Linked DNA regions of Homo sapiens: all the other regions are linked to region 1. The links are contacts of gene promoters, found by promoter capture Hi-C in blood cells and fetal thymus (Javierre and others, 2016). All regions are on one chromosome and are shown on one strand. Each heading gives the region's core, a stretch centred on a gene start or on the middle of the fragment in contact. The rest is flanking DNA. Distances are from core to core; before and after follow the strand shown. Region 1 holds the start of SMARCA2 (SWI/SNF related BAF chromatin remodeling complex subunit ATPase 2). Region 2 overlaps KCNV2 (potassium voltage-gated channel modifier subfamily V member 2). Region 3 overlaps PUM3 (pumilio RNA binding family member 3). Region 4 has its middle 46 kb from the start of KCNV2. Region 5 has its middle 6.1 kb from the start of PUM3.

The links. Contacts are between HindIII fragments. The CHiCAGO score rates a contact against its expected background, and 5 or more counts as called.
Region 2: a contact is called between a fragment that was not itself captured here and the fragment with the promoter of SMARCA2 in region 1, in 1 of 17 cell types (endothelial precursors). The highest score is 5.6, in endothelial precursors.
Region 3: a fragment that was not itself captured here is called in contact with the fragment with the promoter of SMARCA2 in region 1 in 2 of 17 cell types (megakaryocytes and erythroblasts); the score reaches 7.2 in megakaryocytes.
Region 4: a contact is called between a fragment that was not itself captured here and the fragment with the promoter of SMARCA2 in region 1, in 2 of 17 cell types (M1 macrophages and M0 macrophages). The highest score is 5.2, in M1 macrophages.
Region 5: a contact is called between a fragment that was not itself captured here and the fragment with the promoter of SMARCA2 in region 1, in 4 of 17 cell types (activated CD4 T cells, naive CD8 T cells, non-activated CD4 T cells and 1 more). The highest score is 7.1, in activated CD4 T cells.

What each region holds. Positions count from the first base shown.
Region 1 is chr9:2,014,090-2,016,789 of GRCh38, reverse strand. It overlaps SMARCA2 (SWI/SNF related BAF chromatin remodeling complex subunit ATPase 2), which reads right to left and starts at 1,443. Exons shown (of 34, transcript NM_003070.5): 1 at 1,386-1,443. RefSeq lists silencers at 84-253, 1,394-1,733 and enhancers at 441-997, 1,784-1,833, 1,894-1,943. The HindIII fragment of the contact is 4,329 bases long and covers 1-2,259 here.
Region 2 is chr9:2,727,901-2,730,600 of GRCh38, reverse strand. It overlaps KCNV2 (potassium voltage-gated channel modifier subfamily V member 2), which reads right to left. Exons shown (of 2, transcript NM_133497.4): 2 at 564-1,155. The coding sequence ends at 874. Among named protein-coding and RNA genes, the nearest start is that of KCNV2, 12 kb to the right of the region's middle. The HindIII fragment of the contact is 1,615 bases long and covers 476-2,090 here.
Region 3 is chr9:2,816,180-2,818,879 of GRCh38, reverse strand. The region is part of intron 13 of PUM3 (pumilio RNA binding family member 3); the gene reads left to right. Among named protein-coding and RNA genes, the nearest start is that of PUM3, 27 kb to the left of the region's middle. The HindIII fragment of the contact is 1,154 bases long and covers 778-1,931 here.
Region 4 is chr9:2,762,333-2,765,032 of GRCh38, reverse strand. No RefSeq gene overlaps it. Among named protein-coding and RNA genes, the nearest start is that of KCNV2, 46 kb to the right of the region's middle. The HindIII fragment of the contact is 3,526 bases long and covers 1-2,700 here.
Region 5 is chr9:2,848,890-2,851,589 of GRCh38, reverse strand. No RefSeq gene overlaps it. Among named protein-coding and RNA genes, the nearest start is that of PUM3, 6.1 kb to the right of the region's middle. The HindIII fragment of the contact is 3,362 bases long and covers 1-2,700 here.

The DNA.
Region 1 (2,700 bases), core at 194-2,693:
TTGGGATGGGAATAAAGCAAACTCCTGAGCAGGGAGCGAGAAGGAAGGAGTGCGTGTCATCGTTGGGAGGAGGCTCCTACCCGGTCTCCCCGCCTCCCGCCCTCGCCACCCCCCTATTCCCTCCCCACCGCAGCCCTTCCCCTTCCCGGGCGAACCACACCGCCGCTGCCCGGTGGTGCGCGGGTCCTGTTTGTGACAGTCAGGCAGACAGGATTATCCGGATCATGGCCTCCCGGGCCCGCAGCCGCCGCCGTGGCTCTCCTGGGTCCCGGCGCGCCCCTAGCACCCGGACGATCGCAGGCGCCCCACGCCCGCAGCTCCCGCGGCGCAAGCAAGGGGAAGACGCGAAGCAAAAGAACACGGACCCGGGGAGAGGGAGGGCAGGGTAACGGAGGCTGGCGGGCACCTCCGACCTCCTTGGGGGCCTCCTCCCTTCCCTCCAGCAGTGCGGCCCGGGCCGGACATCCCGAACTTTAACACCCGAGCCTGCGCTGCCGCCAGGTACCAGAGGCAGGGACGTCCGCAGCGCCCGGGGCGCAGCCCCCTGGCAGCCCCTTTGCCTAAAGGCCTGCCTACCAATCAGCCTCCCCATCCACGCCGGAGGAAACGCGGAAAGTGGAGGTGACACCTCCGATCAGGCACGCACCGGCCCCGCGGCAGTGGCCGCTACCTCCTTCGCGCGTCAGCTCAGGCTTCTCCCGCTGCGATCCGCTCACGTCTCCGCAGCCGGAGCCCTTTGAACAAGTCCCTGGGAAGCGGGTGGCAACAGCGTCCGTTGGCGCCCCGCCGCCAGCCTGGGCTCCCCGCCCTCCTTTCCCGTTCCCCTTCCAACTCTTCCGGGGAGGGTTGCCCGGGATGAACAGTAGCGTTTCCATCCTCCTCCCCTGTCCCCCAGGCCTTCCCCCTCCTGCGGCCACCCCCCTCCCCGCCGCCTCACTTTTAAGGGGATGGGGGGATTGCAACCTGGCCCAATGTGTGTGTTGCAACCTTGAGTTGGCAGCGCCTCTGACTGCCCACTCAGGATCAAGGCTGTGGCTTGTTGGGATTTTTTTCCTCCTTTGCCCCCTTGAAGTAGTAATTATTACTGTTATTATTAGAACAGCAAGGTTCGGTTGAAACTTTCTCGTTTCTTCCACCGCCGCCTGGGAGCTGTCGTTAGAGCATTCCACCTGAGGCCCGCGGGGAGGAGGCGGGCTTTTTTTTGTCGCGGCGGTTGGCCCGCCTGTTTGTTTTGGTCTCCTTGCATGCACAATAAATAATAATTAGGATAATAATGGATAATCCCGGGCGAAGGCGGCGTGGTGCCGGAGGGGTCTGAGCGGCGGCTGCAGCGGGGCGGCCGAAGGGAGGGGAAAGAGGAGAAAAGAGTTGTAAGTTATATTTACCTTGCTCGCGAGGAGTGTGCTGGCTGAATCTCTTCCCTCTCTGAGTCACCCAGAGTACAGAAACAGAGGGAGAGAGGACTAGATTATGAATATGACTTCATTGATGACAGCCGTCCCCTCCTCTTCCTAAACTCGGGCTCCGCCCAGCGTCCCACCCTCGCCTCCTCCGCGGGCGCCGGAAGACGCGCCGCAGTTGGCCCCGCGCGCCGCTCCTCCCTGCCCGTCCGGGCGCGGGTTGGCGGGACGCGCCTGTCACTCGCTCAGCTCAGCGACTCCGGGAGCGCGGGGGGAGGAGGGGGCGGTGTGCAAGAATGTGGATCTAGACAGCTCTACTGTATGCGTGGATCCGTGTGTGACTGCAAGGCGCCGGCTCTCGGGCCGCGTTTGTGCCTGGAGCAGAGAAACTGCGCGGGATGCAGAAAGCCCCAAGCCCTGCTGGAGCTGGGCGCCCGCTGTCCCTTCCCTGGCAGTCCTCTTCCTCGGGCGCCGCGGGGCTCCTCCAGGGAGACTGCGGAAGGGGAGGAGGCGAAGCGAAAACGGAGGGCAGCCGTAGTAATAGCGCGTAGTAGTTCGGGGGTATGTGGAGAAGGTGCTGGAATTTAACTGTGCCTCCGCCTGCCAGTGCGAGCCTGCAGAGAGAGAGGGAGGGGACGGGGGACGGGCTCCGAGTGGCACCAAAGCTGTTTGTGGCACAGTGTGGACTGTGGAAAAAACGGGCATTGTCGTGCCGGCTGAAACTTTTTCTCCCCCTTCCCTAAGGCTGTCATTATAAATCTGCCCCCTATTCCAGGTAAAAAAATAAAAAATAGAAAAGGGAGGCGGGCACAAAGAACGTTCCTGCCAAATCTGTCTCTTCCCTGAAGGACTGCAAGCTTCCAAATGCCAACGAGGGAGAAACAGCTGAGAGGCTGAACGCCTTATAAATAAGTAAACCCACCCTAACCTCTCTGTTTACTTCGTGGACTAGGTACAGCACTATAACCTTCCCTCACCTGCCATCTTCGCTAAAATATATACAAAAATATGGAAAAACAAACCCTGGGGGCGGGGCTGGCGGGTTAGGGGGCGGCTGAAGCATGGAATCTGGTTTTGATTTAAAAAGGGGAATAAATCTCTTATTTTCTACAGACCGTAGTCTCTTCCCTCTCACCCCGCATTTGAGACCAATTAAGGCTGCAAATTGTAATTTGCTGGCAAGTCGCGGTTTTGAGACCTCTTTGCTCCAATTTTCCTTGAAATACAGTACTTTGGCCGGACCAATAGGTCGGTGTTTGGTGAGACAATTTTATTTTTAGTTTTATGAAGTGTGAAAGAA
Region 2 (2,700 bases), core at 34-2,533, 710 kb before region 1:
GAGAACCACTGGTCTAGAGATTTCACTAGATAACATCCACTTAAACAATTTTAATACCTATCATTTATTGAGCGTTTACACATATCTGTTATCCCCAGACTCATTTTACAAGGCAGGTGGTTTTATTTATTTATTTATTTATTTATTTATTTGAGGCAGGGTCTTACTCTGCCATCTAGATTGGAGTGCAGTAATGTGGTTATAGCTTACTCTAACCTCAAACTCCTGGGCTCAAGTGATCTCACCTCAGTCTTCCAAGTAGCTGGGACTACAGGTGTGGGCCAGCACACCCAGATAATTCTTAATAAGTTTTTGTAGAGGCAGGGTCTCACTATATTGCTCAGCCTGGCAGGGTAAGTATTGCCTACATTTCACAGTTGAAGAAACTGAGGCTTAAAGGGTTAGAGTCGCTTGCCTAAAAGCATACAGCTGGTAGCTCTGGGATTCTGACTAAGGTTGGTCTAACTCCAAAGCTTGTATAATTTCTGCTGTAACCCTCCCTCCCTCTGGAAAGTTAAGAATTTTAGAAAAATTTAAAGTAAAAAAAATTTTCTCAAGTCAACTCAAGTCCAAAAATATTTATTGAGCTAGATGCCACGAGAAGCTACAAGAAAAATCTAAGCTGTTGCTCCCCTCAGGTTTTCAATATCAACGTCATTGAGAAGGTCAGATGTTTCACACAACACAGAGCAACTATGAGACATTCTGAGTTTGGGCCAAAATGAGTATTTCTAGAGGCAGTACTTTGTGAACGAAATGGCCTTTGTGTATGTCTGCTTCACATTTCCTTTTGCTGCCAATCATAATGATTAAAAAAAGAGCAATGAAGCCTTGAAGTTCATGGAATCTACCAGCCACATGTCCTATAAAATACTAATTCTCTTGTCTTGGGGTGAGCTGTGGGTTGCTTCCAAGCAAACACTCAGCTATCTTCTTTCTGGCTCTCTGCATGAAGTTCACCTCTCCCCTCTCCCTGCGTATGGTGGTATACTCATAAGCCTTCAGCTTGCTGTAGTAATCAGAAAACTTGTTGTAGAGGATGGAAATGGGCATCCCGTTGAGAATGATCCCAAAAGCAATGCAGAGGAAGGCAAAAAACCTGCCCAGGTGGGTCTCTGGGTACATGTCTCCGTAGCCCACGGTGGAGATGCTCACCTGTAGAGGAAGGAAAGCAGGATGGAATTGTTAGCACTAAGATCGGGGAGGAGAAGAAAGGGAGAGGAGCAAGCAGGGAAGCGTCCTCCCTGTGGGTACACATGGGAAGTGTAATGGCTTCCCACGGAGCCTGCTTTAGGAGGTACCAGGAAGACTCCCTCTAGGACCTGTGTCATGAAAAGAACAGAAGCTATGGATGGAGCTGAAAGACTTTGGCTGAAATCCTGACTACGACTCATGCATGTTTGAATGTAAGATATGGGAGGAGGAGGTAATACCTACTTGAAATGGTTGCTGTAAAGAGCATTTAAAATAGTATGTTAAGTACCTGATGTAGAACGTGCTCAGTAAATGATCTTTGCCTCCCTAACTCAGCTGGCACCAGATTCAGGAAAGCAGGTCCCTGGGTTTGCCTGTACACTGTATGTATTGGAAAAATCTTGGGCTTAGAACAGTCAGACCTGGGTTCAAGTCCTGACTCTGAACCTTTCCAGTTGAGTGACCTGGGGCAAAACCTTCAGACTCTCTCTCTCTCTTTTTCTTTTTTTCTTTTTTTTTTTTTTTATTTAAAACAGGAGAAAACCATCTAACTCTTAGGATTCTTGTGAAGGCTAAATAAGAAAATGAATATAAAGCACTGAACACAGTACCAGGCATACAAAAGGCATGAAACTCCTCCATTGTCTTCCTCTCATCTTTAAAATGAAGACAGTTATAACACTTTTCAAAGTTGTTACGTAGTTCAAATGAGAGACTTTATGTGAAGGTGCTTTAATTGCAGATGTCTGGAGAAACACTCTCATTATTTTGTAAAGGGACTTTTGTAAGACATCACTCACCAAAAATATGTTCACCCCTGCATGAAATACTTCCCATTACTCTTGTCATACTGATTTAAATCCCACTAATTGGAGACTTATTTAGGTTAACAAGCTTCTGTTTTAAAATGCAGATACCATGGGACTAGTTATCAGTTACCAGAGAAAACCCTGTGAAAATTCCTTGGGGACTGTTTTTTATGCCTCATGTACTCCCTCTGATCCCCAGAGTATTGGCTAAATTACTAGAAGCCTTTTAAGCAGAGCTGTTGGTCACAGTTGTAAACATTTTTGCGTTGCACTACTCCAGGGGGGCACTCTTTGCTTTGTGTATTTGGGTAGTTGTTGCCATAATTTTCCAGCAGACGGCAGTAAAGCATATGGTCATCTTGTTGATCCGTGCTGAGGTGGCCGTTAGCTTAGCAGTGTAAATATTTTTGTTTTGATGATGTAAGGGTTAGTTTGAACCTGGAATAGTGCAGTTGACTGATTAGAATGAAATGGAGAAGTGAGCCAGCTGCACAAAACTGAGGGCACTGATGAGAACCACAGCTCCATCCAGCCCACGAAAAAAGGAAGGGTATGCCTCCTTTTTGAGGCTGATGATGCACCTCCTGTCACTCACTGCCCTGTCTCTTGTGAGAGGTCATGCAGCCTTTTTCTGCAGAGTCAAAATACAAGCAGGCATCCAAGAGAGGTAATGTGGTGTAGATAAGCTGAAGGAAAC
Region 3 (2,700 bases), core at 105-2,604, 800 kb before region 1:
AGAAAAAGTATACCAGCTAGTGGAGGGGAAGATTGTTTTCTTAGATGCCAGCCGTAGGTCCCAGTGTGTGTGAATTTCTCATGCCCTTGCTGTCATTTTCCAACTTTACCCTTGACTGTTTTAAGATTGTGATGACTTTCTTTGGGATAGGATTGTGGGAAGAAACAAGTTGGCAAGACTTTCATGTTACAAACTGAGTATTTTGACATGTTCCTTGTGACTTTATTACCCTTTTGACTCCAATCAATAATGATTGTTTTTCATTCTTGTGACAGAGATGTGAGGCCATAGAATTGGCTGATGAATAAAGTTGTTTCACAGAAATGGAAACAGGCTGGGATATTGAAAGTTTGCTTTTGTTTAATATTTTCACGACAACTAAAATGTGCATAGCTGTTCCAAATGGATTTCAAGAGAAACCAAATTTCCTTCATGATTTGCCAGAATTGTCTGTTAATTTTTTTCCAAAGATGTATGCCACTTAAAGTTGCTGTTGAAAAAGTTTTAATTCCTTATGCTTATCACTTTGATTCCCACAACTGCTTAACCCACATTCTTAACGACTTTCTCATACTTAGGGCAGCTTTCCCTGAATGGCCTGATTTGCCGATCTCTTTCCTGTAACTGACAAACGTTCAACAGGTTCTGTGTATTATTAAACTGTGTAGCTCGTGATAAAATTCTGGAATGCTAATTGCCCTTGGATTTTTCCCATCACTCATCCACCACAAAAACAGTTGCAGTATGCAGTGCTTTTTAAAAATAACCAGGAAAGCTTAGTGTTGCTAAGCACTCTGTTCAGGGCACCAGACTTCCCAAAATGTCAGGTTGAAATCACAGCCTGGTCAGCTGAGCTCTTCGCCTTTCAAAATGGATACGAGCTCTTTCTTACTACTTTCCTAAATAAACATAAAGTTTCATCCAGTTTACCTTTGCAGTCAATTGATATGCAGACGGTTTGACAGCAATGGTCGCTGGAAAGTAAATAAGTATACTAGCCAATTGCTGTTTGAGGGTGAATAAATATTGATGCATATTTTTAAAGCCATTGTCTTTAAAATATACAGAAAGGTATGAATAATACAGTGAACATCCAGCCTCCCACCACCTGACATGAAATAAAACTTGACAAATACAGTTCAAGTTTAAGCCCTTTGTGTACCCATCCCTGATATCCTATCATCGCCCCATATCTACTATGATAAATTTGGTATTTATTATTCATCTGCATTTCCTTATCCTTTCACTATATGTGGACATTTTTTATTTTGTAAAACATGTATCTAATTTTATTTTACATGTTTGCAAGTTCTGTATAAATGATGTCTTACATGTATTTTTCTGCATCTTGCTTTTTTTCTTTTCTCATGTTTGTGAGATTTATTGTCAGGGGTCAGCAAGCCTTTTTATAAAGGGCCAGTTAATAATTATTTTAGCCTTTGTGGGGTATATATGGTCCTATCATGTATTCTTGTGCATTTTGTTTTTGTTTTTTAAAACCCTTTTGAAATGTAAAAACCATTATTAGCTTGCAAGATGGACAAAAACAGGCTATAGGCTGAATTTGACCAATGGGCCATAGTTTACCCATCCCTATTCTAAATCATTTATTTTTCACTGCCAAATAGTATTCTATTACATGTGACTATACTGCGATTTATTTTCTGTTTTCCTGGTGATGGATGTTTAGGTTGTTTACAATTTTAAAAACTAACTTTAATTCTTAATTTTTGCTAATCCAAATCCTTGAACATTCTTGTGTATATTTCCTTGGGTACATGTTAAGTTTCTCTAAGGCACTTAGCAGAATTGCTGGGCTGCCAAATTTGCTGCATGTATGTTTATATAGAGAGTCACGTGTTCCTATTTCCCACTCAGCCACTACGAAACCATTGCATTACGCAGTGCTTTTAAAAATAGCCAAGAAAGCTTAGTGTGTTGCTAAGCATTCCATTTAGAGTAACTAGATTTCCCAAAATGTCAAGTTGAAATCATAGCCCGATAATCACTGCTTGTTTTCTGTTAAGACTAAGCTCTAGTGTAATCAGCAGATAGTGATCTTCTAGTCAGATGTGGTCTCCCCACCCACTCAACTACTATAGTCTTTTTCTTTGCCATCCTTTCCTTGAGCAGTTAATCATGATCTCACCCAGGGCTCACAAACCTGCAAACCTTCATTGACCAGATAGGTAAATGAGTGGCCAGGCCAGGTGTGAGACAAGGAGATGTGGGAGGGACTGTAGGAAATGGCGAGAGCACACACCCTCTGCAAGGTGGTGGGCACCATTCAGCTCCAGTCCCTGGCAGTGTGAGCTCCATGGCGATAGATCTTCACATTTGTTTTCTTTTTAATTGAGGTAAACTACATATAACAAAATTTAGCATGTTAACCATTTTGAAGGATACAGTTAAGTAGTATTAAATATGCTCATTGTTAGGCAATCTCCAGGACTTTTTTTATTTTGCAAAACTGAATGAAGCAGCGTACCCACTAAACTAGACCTTCCAGTTTTTTTAGTGCAGCTGAAAAGGTAGACTTTTGGAAACAGTCACCCTGTTTTCAGAACAAAATACTTGGGAAGCTGCCTGATGATCTAACCTGCCCTCTATATTTCTGTTATCCATTAGTTAAATCTCTTAGTTTTAACTTTTTATTAACTCTCTTCCCTCTTCACTAGCTTTTAGGTTCTATGCAGTAGT
Region 4 (2,700 bases), core at 175-2,674, 750 kb before region 1:
CCCAGGCTGGAGTGCAGTGGCGCAGTCTCGGCTCACTGCAACCTACGCCTCCCGGGTTCAAGTGATTCTCGTGCTTCAGCCTCCCTAGTAGCTGGGATTACAGGCATGCACCGTCATGCCCAGCTAATTTTTGTATTGTTGGTAGAGATGGGGTTTTACCATATTGGCCAGGCTTGTGTTGAACCCCTGACCTCAAGTGATCTGCCCAGCTTGCCCTCCCAAAGTGCTAGGATTACAGGCATGAGCCACCACGCCTGGCCTAGGATAAAATATTTTAATTTCCTTTTATTATATACCTGTGTTGGTATATAGAGCCAAGCCTTACTGCTGTGAGCATCATATGAGGCCCTGGTCATAGCTCCTGTCTGTGGCTACTGTGGAGTTTGCCACTTCCTGTTTCCATGATCTTAGATGAACCAAACTCTACAAGGGAAAATACTTTGTAAGTTACAAAACTGCCTGACAACCACTGATCAGAATTATTCTTGCTGTTTCCTGTGCCGCATTTCTCTCAAGCAGGAGAGAAGTCTGTAGTTCTCAATGGCTGTCACCCACGGCAAGGACAGCTTCTTTCTTTGTGGAGCAGAGACGTGTGACTCTGAGTCAGTGGCAGGCAATGTTATGCTGGTAATAAGAACTCTATAATGAAGCGGTCTGAGAATATGAGTGCATTGTCCTCCTTTCTTTTGTTTCTCTTTTTTTTTTTTTTTTTTTTTTTTGAGATGGAGTCTCACTCTGTCACTCAGGCTAGAGTGCAATAGTGCCCACTGCAACCTCCACCTCCTGGGTTCAAGTGATTCACCTCCCTCAGGCTTCCAAGTAGGTGGGATAACAGGCACCTGCCACCATGCCTGGCTAATTTTTGCATTTTTATAGAGTCAGGGTTTCACCATGTTGGCGAGGCTGGCCTCAAACCCCTGACCTCAGGTGATCCACCCATCTCAGCCTCCCAAAATGCTAGAATTACAGGCATGAGTCACCACGCCCAGCCTTGCCCTCCTTTCTTGATGAAGCCCCTGCTCATATCTATCTTTAGCTATAGTGTTCACAAAAAGATTATTAGATTATCGCAATCTCAAGTGTTATTTGTGCCTTGTTTAATAGACTTGAGCAAAAGTATTTCAAGGGCCTGTGCCAGGTGTTTTCTCTCTTTTTAATCCTTTTTCAGCTGGCAAGGATCATGCACATTTATTCTGGATTTGGCTGATTTTCCCGGGAATGTATGGTGAGATGTGAGTTTGCAACACCATTATTTTTTTTAAGGAACAATAAGGGCATATACACAGAAAGCACCCATCCACATATAATTTTGAATCCCAGGGTCCTTAGAGATATGCTAGTCAGCCCAACTCCCCTCATTTGCAGATTTGGGTGCCAGAAGTGAAAACGCCTTTGCAAAATTTTGACAGTAAGAGAAATCTGACATAGTTACTCCATCTTGATTCTAACCTCCAAGTTGTCCTTGGTCATTCCTGGGCATAAGCCAAGCTAGGTTTGGCAGGAATTAGGTTTATGGTTTAACTTTAAAGCAAGGATGATAATAGCCCTTCCCCAAACTAAACCACCTCTATAAAACTAAGTTCGCAAGGTTGTGATTATGAGAGGGGCCTGAATTCTGCTGAGATGTAGGCGTAGTTAAATGATTACCAGCCCTTGTTCTGGAGGTAACAAGACTTGCAATTTCCCCAATGATTCCCCTAGATAACATCACTATTGTGAAACCTAACATTAGCTTTTTGAGATGTTTTTTAGACTTTTGCATTTCTGACTCCACACAGACCCTCAATTCATGACTCAACCAGTCCTGTGGCCCCCACAGGTGGGCTGAGAGCATGAGAACTGTTTTCCAGACCCCTGTGATTTCATCCCCAATCAATGAACATCCCCCATTCCCTAGCCCCCTGCCCACCAAACTGTCCTTGTAAAACCCTAACCTCCAAACTTATGGGGAGACTGATTTTAGTAATTACTTCATCTCCCACATGGCTAGCCTTGTGTCAGTTAAACTCTTTCCTTACTGCTGTGCTGCAGTCTCAGTGAATTGATTTTGTCTGTGCAATGGGCAGGGAGACGTTGTTGAGTGATTACACTAAAACTACCCATTTATTTTTTAAAGAGAGAGAGAGGGAAAGTATTTGTGTGCAGAGAGAAAGAGAATGCTAAAGTAAAATATAAAATGTTGACAGGTGGAGAATCTAGGTGGAGGGTATGCAGATTTCCATTTTACTAGCCTTTTTATTTTCTCTTTACTTTTCCTTATAAAAATGAGGGTAGGAGTGGTTAAAGCCAGGTCTAGAGGACTCAGAAAATATCTTGTGCCAGTGGAGAAGTACATGATTATTTAAGACTAGGTTTTTTGCCATACAGAGGATGATAATGTGGGAGACCAGCATGTGCCTCCCCAAAATAGAAAGAATTGTTGAGCTGAAGACAATTAAGAAGTAGATGCAGGGAAGTTCTCAGCCCTGCCTCTATTTGCCTAAAGCAGAACATAGATTTTGAAGGAAATAAAAATATTTCACTCCTAAATATATTTATTTGTCCTATTTTGAGATGGCTGTCAGAGGGTCAGCAAACAGAAGTGTCCCTGCAAAGCTGTCTTTAGTGAGGAAAATTTGCATCTGGAGAGACCTTCATTAATGAAGCCTTCCCTTGTCTGGATTTAGAAAGATTAACTGAGAGTTGGACACTTTTAAAAGT
Region 5 (2,700 bases), core at 79-2,578, 830 kb before region 1:
CAACATTTGGGCTCCTTTTATTCTGGAAGGGCCAACAGTTTCCCCTCAGTGGGATAGTCTTATTCCAAATATGAGTTTGCCTTTCCCACCCACAGAGCCTCAGCCAGCATCAATATCCAGACGTTTATGCAGTGCATGATCCACAAGCATGTAAACCTATGTAACATAGCATCCAAACAGGGGCCACAACTCACAGCAAAGTGGGTGCAGAAGTGAGCCCATGGTCATGTGATTCCCAGATGACATCACAGATGCTCCATCAAGAGGCAACCAACCCACAATAGAACATTGCAGTGGCCTATCGAAGGCACAGCTGGAGTACCAGTTTACAGGCAATAGTCTACAAAAAGGAGGTGCTATCCTCCAGAATGCAGAATAAATAAATCAGAGATCTCCATAGAGTGCTATGCTCCTAATAAGAATACATGGGTCAAGGAACCAGGGGAAAGAAGCAGGAATCATCATTCTTACCATTATTCTCAATGGCCCTCTGGGGAAATGCATGTTTCCTGTCGCCTTAACTCTGGGCTCTGCAGGTTTAGAAGTCCTTGTCTTCAAAGGAGGCACACTCTTGCCAGGGGACAGAGCAAGAGTTTCATTGAACTACGGGTGTCTCCTGGACATTTTGGACTCCTTGTGTACAAGATTAACAGGTAAGAAGGGGCGTCTCCATCTGGGCAAGTGTGATTAACTCCGATAACTAGAGGAGATAGGACTGCTTTTGGTCAACTGAGACATGGAGGAATACATATAGAACCTAGGCGATCCACTTAGGTATTTCTCAGTTCTCCTTAGCCCCCACTGTAATGGTAAATGAACATAGGAAGCAACCCTTGGCTTAGAGGTTATGATTACTAGAGTCTCAGACCCTGTAAAACCAATGGTTTAAGTCACATGACCAGGTTAGTCATCAAGACCTGCCAAGCTAATAGCCAAGGATGAGGTGAATTTAGAATGGATAGTGCTGGAGTGAGATGATGAGTACTTGCTGCAGCCCCCAGGAGACTATACTTTGTCCCCCTGGTCTCTCTCTTCTAACATTCCCCTCCTGAGCAGAGGGCCATAGGAACAATGGAGGAGCCACTCCCCAAACACACATGGAGAAATAGCCCTGTGCTGTGTGAGGGGTAGACTCTGGCAGCCATGGAGTGAACTGCTCCAATCTCCTTTCAAGAGAGAACCGGCTGCGAGAGGTGTAGTTAGCTTATGCCTCCAGCTGCCACAACTTCAGCATCCACTGCAGCATTCATGCTGAGGCCATGCACTCCCTGGGTTGCTCCCAGCCAATGACTGAGCACAGCAGGGGTACTTGAGCTGGGCCTTTCCTACTCAATTTAGCTTTCCTTTAAGGAGAAATCTTTGCTCTGCAGTGCCATGCTGGCCTCGCCGAGGCTTTCTCAGAGCTTTACTACAGCCTGAAGACTTTCTACCACATCCTCCTTCCGCCTCTCTCTCGACACACGTCAGAGCTGTATCATGGTATCGGGTGCTCCCTATTTACTGCTATTTCCTCTCCCCTCAGCTTATTGTGAAGTTTTTCTCACAACATGTCTCTTGGCCTAATTCTATCTTGACATCTGCTTCCTGGAGAATTTAAATTGACATAATAGGTTTGAGCAAGTGGGTTAATTTATTTCTTCATCTTAAAAGGAAGAGGTAGGCTGGGCACAGCTGCTCATGCCCATTAATCCCAGCACTTTGGAAGACCGAGGTGGGAGGATCACTTGAGGTCAAGAGTTCAAGACCAGTCTGGGCAACATAGCAAAACCTGTCTCTCCAAAAAAGAAAAAAAAATAAAGGAAGAGAGGAATATTGGGTAGGTAAGTAGAGCTAGATCATTATTCTAAGTACCAACATGAAATTTCTATAGTTTTAAAAAGTGGGAGGAATAATTAGAAAATTCTTTTTTTTCTATTTTTAATTTTTTTATTATACTTTAAGTTCTAGGGTACATGTGCACAACGTGCAGGTTACATATGCATACATGTGCCATGTTGGTGTGCTGCACCCGTTAACTCATCATTTACATTAGGTGTATCTCCTAATGATATACCTCCCCCCTCCCCCCAGCCCATGACAGGCCCCAGTGTGTGATGCTCCCCACCCTGTGTCCAAGTGTTCTCATTGTTCAATTCCCATCTATGAGTGAGAACATGTGGTGTTTGGTTTTTCGTCCTTGAGATAGTTTGCTGAGAATGATGGTTTCCAGCTTCATCCATGTCCCTACCAAGGACATGAACTCATCCTTTTTTATGGCTGCATAGTATTCCGTGGTGTATATGTGCCACATTTGCTTAATCCAGTCTATCACTGATGGACATTTGGGTTGGTTCCAAGTCTTTGCTATTGTAAATAGTGCCGCAATAAACACACGTGTGCATGTGTCTTTACAGCAGCATGATTTATAATCCTTTGGGTATATGTCCAGTAATGGGATGGGTGGGTCAAATATTTCTAGTTCTAGGTCCTTGAGGAATTGCCACACTGTCTTCCACAATGGTTGAACTAGTTTACGGTCCCACCAGCAGTGTAAAAGTGTTCCTGTTTCTCCACATCCTCACCAGCACCTGTCGTTTCCTGACTTTTTAATGATCGCCATTCTAACTGGTGTGACATGGTATCTCATTGTGGTTTTGATTTGCAAGAAAATTATTCTTTATTCATATTTGAAACAAACAATTTTCTTATTTGTTCACCTAA